2 separate regions of the Homo sapiens genome follow, and region 2 is linked to region 1. The links are contacts of gene promoters, found by promoter capture Hi-C in blood cells and fetal thymus (Javierre and others, 2016). All regions are on one chromosome and are shown on one strand. Each heading gives the region's core, a stretch centred on a gene start or on the middle of the fragment in contact. The rest is flanking DNA. Distances are from core to core; before and after follow the strand shown.

The links. Contacts are between HindIII fragments. The CHiCAGO score rates a contact against its expected background, and 5 or more counts as called.
Region 2: a fragment that was not itself captured here is called in contact with the fragment with the promoter of LHX2 in region 1 in 2 of 17 cell types (erythroblasts and megakaryocytes); the score reaches 6.8 in erythroblasts.

The regions. Positions count from the first base shown.
Region 1 is chr9:124,010,414-124,013,113 of GRCh38, reverse strand. It overlaps LHX2 (LIM homeobox 2), which reads right to left and starts at 1,346. Exons shown (of 5, transcript NM_004789.4): 1 at 646-1,346. The coding sequence starts at 765. RefSeq lists an enhancer at 1-434 and a silencer at 1,373-1,422. The HindIII fragment of the contact is 7,434 bases long and covers 1-2,700 here.
Region 2 is chr9:123,471,544-123,474,396 of GRCh38, reverse strand. The region is part of intron 13 of DENND1A (DENN domain containing 1A); the gene reads left to right. Among named protein-coding and RNA genes, the nearest start is that of MIR7150, 13 kb to the left of the region's middle. The HindIII fragment of the contact is 3,591 bases long and covers 1-2,853 here.

The sequences.
Region 1 (2,700 bases), core at 97-2,596:
CTATTTGGGGCTGGGCCCGCGGAGCCAGGTGTAGAGATCCAAATGGAGTCTCCTTCGGCGAGGGCCAGGCCGGAGCCTGAACTCCCAGCCCTGGCCTGGCTAAGTCTGACCAGTCAAGGGTCTGGGGACGCGATCAACGACAAATGTTGGCCCCGAAGACTTCGGCCTCTGAAACTGCGCTGGGGGTTGAGGAGGATCCCCGATTGCCGGAAAGCTGGGAGCGGCCCAAGCCGGCTGGAGCCCCAATGCTCCCAGCTGGTTCGCCCTTCCCTGGCGCCGCTCGCGGCGCCGCCAGCAACCGGAGCCGAGAGGTGGAGGAGAGCGCGGGGCTGTCGACCCCGGCACCGGGCAAGGTGAGAAGGGAGCCGCCCCGGGCCGCGGATGGGACTTCGCTTCCAGTTCGGAAGAAACGCTCTCCTCTACCCCCAGGGCCGAGATTTCGGTTTCAACCTTGTTTCCCTTCTGCGTCCCAGCAGCCGGGTTTCCCCCGAACCGGGAGCCACCGGCCTTGCATTCTGACCGAGGATCCCCAGCACCCAGTCCCGTGCGGCACGAAGGACGCTCCCCAAACTTCGGGGAGCAGAGGCGCTGACTGGCCCGGCCCCATCCCAGCTCTCAGCCCCGACCCCACAGCCGCGCGCCTACCGTCTCGGTGTCGCCGCGGTCGATGGCGGAGCTGATGGCGGGAGCCTCGCTCTTGGCCCTGCGGTCCATCTCGTCGATGACCCCGTGCACCTCGGGGCCCGACAGACTGTGGAACAGCATCGCGGCGGGACCGGCGGGGCCGGGGGCGCGGCTCCTCCGAGGGAGGGCTTGCCCCCCGCCTCAGCTGCCTGGCGCTCCTGGCGCTAACGGGCCCGGTGCATCGCCACCGCGGCCCCGGCCCCGCCCGAGCTCGGCTGAGCCCCCAGGCCGGGCTCCGGGCCCCGGGCGCTCGCGGGGCAGGACGCCTCCCGCCGAGGCGCAGGGGCAGCTACATTGCGGGGCGCCTGGGCGACGGCGCCAAAGCCAGGGTCACAAGGGCACGGGACAAGCGGGGCGGGGGGAGCAGGAGACTAGGACAGAGGTCGGCGCCCGCCGCGGGCGCTTTCACGCCGCGGGCATCGCCCGCCCGGCTTCAGCGCCCGGGGCGCAAAGCAAGGGCGCAAACTCTGCCCGAGGCGGCGACGGCTGCGGTCGGGGTTCACCCTGAAGCCGCTAGGTGTCCGCGGCGGCCCAGCTGCCTGGACCCCTCCCCTCCCTGGGGTGCGCCCCCAGCCCAAGGCGACCCTCTTGGGCGCTGAGTCGGCGACTGGAGTAGGGGTTTCTCCGAAGCCTGCGAGCCGAGTCGAGCCACCGGGAGAATTGAAGAGGAGGAGGAAGAGGAGGAGGAGGAGGCGGAGGAGGAGGTGGAGGAGGAGAAAAAAGAGGAGGAGCAGAGTGGGAGGAGGAGCCGCCGGCCGCGGGCCCAGCCGCGCGCAATGCTCTCCAAGCGCGCGCCTAGCCCAGCCCCGGCTCTGCAGTCCGCGCCAGCGCAAGCCTCCGCGCCTTTTCTACAGCCGCGCCTGACATCACGTCCTGCCGCCGTGCCATTGGCCGCTCGGCGCCCCAGGCCCTGGCAGCGCGTGCTCCGGGAAGGCGGGAGACCCAAGAGGGAGGGGAGAGGCAAGAGGAGCAGAGGAGAGTCGAGATGGTGGGAGCTGGTGGGCGAGGCTGGAGGGCGGGGGTGGGGGGGAGGCAGGGAGGAGGGAGAGCGCGGGGTTTGGAGTTTTTAAGATACGAACAGCTTCCTGCGATATCTTCAGAAAGGAAAATTAAACCCTCTATCCTAAGAAGGCGCAGCAAGGGGATGCTCGTCTCACTGCGGTCTCCCCTCGGCCTGGAGCCGCGGCCTCAGGCACCCGCCTGGGAGGCCCGGGAAGGCAGGCCTGTGGCAGAGTTGCAAGAGCCTTCGGCCGGCCGTTTCCCATCGAGCTCCGCCTTCGGCCCGGGCTCTGCACAGCGGGCTGCAGGCGGCCGTGCAAGCCTCCTGGGTACCCGGCAGAGCCTGAGTGGCGAGACCGGCGAGAGCTGTGACTCCCGGGGAGGGGGGCCAGCCAGCATATCCACGCTCCAAGCCCGCTAGGGCCCAATCTGCAGCCCAGCGTGTAGCTTCTCGCTCTTCCCGGTCTCTCCCCAGCCTGGAAGAGTGGGGGCGAGCATGGCTTTAGGAACTCAGAAAGGCCAGGGTTCGAATCCTAGCTCTGCCATTTACATGCACTGTAACCTTAGGCAGTGACTTATCCTCCCTTAGCCTGTTTCTGACCTTTATAATGGGCGACAAGAAGCTCTCCTCCGCATGGACGTGTTGATTGAAAGAGACTGTGGATGTAAAATGCCTGGAACATAGTAGGCACTTAGCAAATTATTTCATTACTCTCTCTTGCTCCTTTTCCATTAAAAACTTTCTCACTCCAAGACACATTCGATATCAGTGAGGTTCTTAAAAACCACAGGCCTATTCTCTGCCCACTGGGCACACCATGTCTCAGACCCCGCTGATGGCGCGAGTCCTCCTTACCCGCCTGGCTGCACCACCTCCCCAGGGGCCAACAAAGTAGCGTGCTGGGTAAATCCCAACTGCTACCCCCAGCCTCCAGGTTTCAGGCTCACCCTAGAGTCTCCTGGGGACTGGAGGGAAATACCCAGGTGTCTGGTGGGGGAGGGATTTAGGAAATAAAA
Region 2 (2,853 bases), core at 294-2,793, 540 kb after region 1:
CCACGGTAATAACAGCTGATGTTTATAGAGAGTTTTATAATTGTCAGGGTTCTTCTGTAATTATTTGATCCTTAAAATAATGCTGTGAAAGTAAATGTTACAGGCTGGGCAAGGTGGCTCACGCCTGTAATCCCAACACTTTGGGAGGCCGAGGCGGGTGGATCACTTGATGTCAGGAATTCGAGACCAGCCTGACTAACATTGTGAAACCCCATCTCTACTAAAAATACAAAAATTAGCTCGGCATGGTGGTGCATGCCTGTAATCCCAGCTACTCAGGAGGCTGAGGCAGGAGAATTACTTGAACCCAGGAGGCAGAGGTTGCGGTCAGCCAAGATTACACCATTGCACTCCAGCCTGGGAGACAGAGCGAGACTCCATCTCAAAAAAAAAAAAAAAAAAAAAAAAAAGAAAGAAAGTAAACGTTACCCCATTTTACAGAGCGGAACCCTGAGCTTGGAGAGGCTGAGTGCAAACCCATGGCCAATACCAGCAGAGCAGAAGCTCAGCCACCGAAGCCTGCGTCCTCCCCATACTGGGCGCAGTGTTGCTCCAAGGCCTGGATCTCTTAGATGGGGCCTAAACGGAGATTTAGGGACTTTTAGTGGAGAAAGAGACTGGGATGGGAAGCCAGCAGGGGAGCCTGGCCCTGGAGGACCCCCTCATTATAGGTGGTGACATCTCACCAGAGGAACAGGCCGAAAGTTGTGGTGGTCAGAGAACTACAAAAATAGCAGCCCTCATACTGCTTCCTACACAAGAGGAACGGGTGGTTCCAGGGCAGATAAGAATGACTTTACAAGATGAAAATGATCAGTGAGGGCACACAGGTCTGGAGAGGAGCGGAGTTGGCATTTTTTGGCCCTGCAAATAGCTGCCCATCTGCTCTCTGTCAGAATATGTTAGGGGTGCATCTGGATTGCTGCCCCTGAGTCTCGGCTCCAGGCTGGTCATGTGGTTGTCTCCACGACAACTCCAGGAGCGGTGTAAACGGCTGCGCTTGGAGCCAGATGCTGCTCTGCACATGTGGTCTAATTAAACGGTGTTCCCTGTCTCCCTCCGCCCTCCCCTGCCCCTCCCAGCACACACATACATTCTCTCTTTTCCATCCCTCCCTGCACCCCTCCTCCTTACATCCTCAGTCAGCCTGTCTGGCTCTCCACCCTGTGTGCCTCTTCTTCAGAAATGTTCCTGTTGCCTGATTTGCAGTAGAATAATTCATGCAACAAGCATCAGAGCGCTTGCTCTGACCCAGGCATGGGGCTAGAAGCTGGAGGTGCAGAGGCGAGTCAGACACGGCCTGCCCCTGAGGAGGTCACCATCTAGTAAGGATCTGACCGGCAGCCAGGCAATGTAATGCATGGCAATAAATGCTACAGCAGAGGTGAGCGTAGGGCTGCAGAGCCCAGAGGAGGGACACTGACCCAGCCCCGGGCAAGGAGGAAGCATCCCAGGGCAGCTTGCCCTGGGTTAATCCTCCAAGGGTGAAGGGCAAGGGGGACTCCCCAGCCTGAGTGGCCTCCCCACAGAGGGCCCAGCACACACAAAGGCAGGAGACTTACAGACCTACCTGGAGAACCGTGGCTGGCCCCGTGTTATGGGAATGCAGGAAGTTTGGGGAATGAGGAGCCGCGGTGGGCGGGGTGGGCAGGGTCACACCTTGGGGGGCTTCTCCCCAACTCCATACTCTGCTTGCTTCTGCAGGCACTGAAAGCCAAGGAAATGGGAGCAACTCAGTGGCTGCCTGAGGGGGACAAGGGGCCCTGAGTGAATGAAGCCTCCTGGGCATGTTTCCCTCGATGCAGTCCTGCCCTGGACACTCGAGGCACTGTTCAGGGCTGGGCGGGGTGTACCGGACATGCTGAGGAGCTATATTTTTGTGTGTATTTTGAGGGTCTGGCACCCACCACATCTCAGATCTCTGGCTCTCAAGAAAGATGCCCCCAAATGAGGAAGAGGGGAACCAGCAACTCCCTTGCTCACCCTGTCCATGACGTGCCCGCCAGCCCCAGTGACACAGCTCCTCGCTGTGAACCGCCGGCTGGCTGCCCCACCAGGCCCTCCACCTGCTTCCCAGTTAGGGAGCACTTGCTTCTTCCTGGTCCTTGGTTTTTATGCCTCCCCCTCCCCCAGTGGCCTTTCTTGGACCCCACCCCACCTGGACAGAGTCACCTCAGTCACCCATATTTGTGGAATGACAGGTACAGAAGGCCCCATCCAAGACATGATGCCCAGCTCACAAAGGGCATCTCAAAAGAGCCACAAAGGACGTTGATCTCCCCTGAGCACCTGCTGTGTGCTCCAAAGTACGGGCAGCTTGACACACACCATATCACCTTAAACCTCACAATAGGAAGTAGGTAGTTTCCCCAATTTATAGCTGAGGCAACTGAGCTCAGGGAAATTCACTTGCTTCCCCATTTCTTCAGAGCCCCTGGGCGGTACAGAATCCCCATCCAGAGATTCTGGATTCCTCGGTCTGGGACTGCAGCTGCAGAACATGGAAAAGGACATTTTTGTGTAGAAAATCGTCTGACATATCTTGGATTTCCTAGAAGCCCAGGGGAAAACTGTGTTTGGGTAACTGAGCGTGCTCAGAGCTCGGGGGTGTCGTGGGAGGAGCCTGGACTTTGGGGTCAGAGAACTGACTTCAAGTGCGACTATGGTTCTTCAGCTCTGTGGCCTTGGTCAAGTCACAGCTCCTTCCTCTCTAAGATGAGGCTCAAGAGCCTGTCTTTGTAGGGTTCTTACGAGAAGTCAACGTGCAGCCACAGAGAGTTGCCATGTCCTGCGGCGTCCCAGCCCTAGCAGGCAGCTTCGTGGAGGTTCCTTTTCTTCTTGCTGTACGTTGCG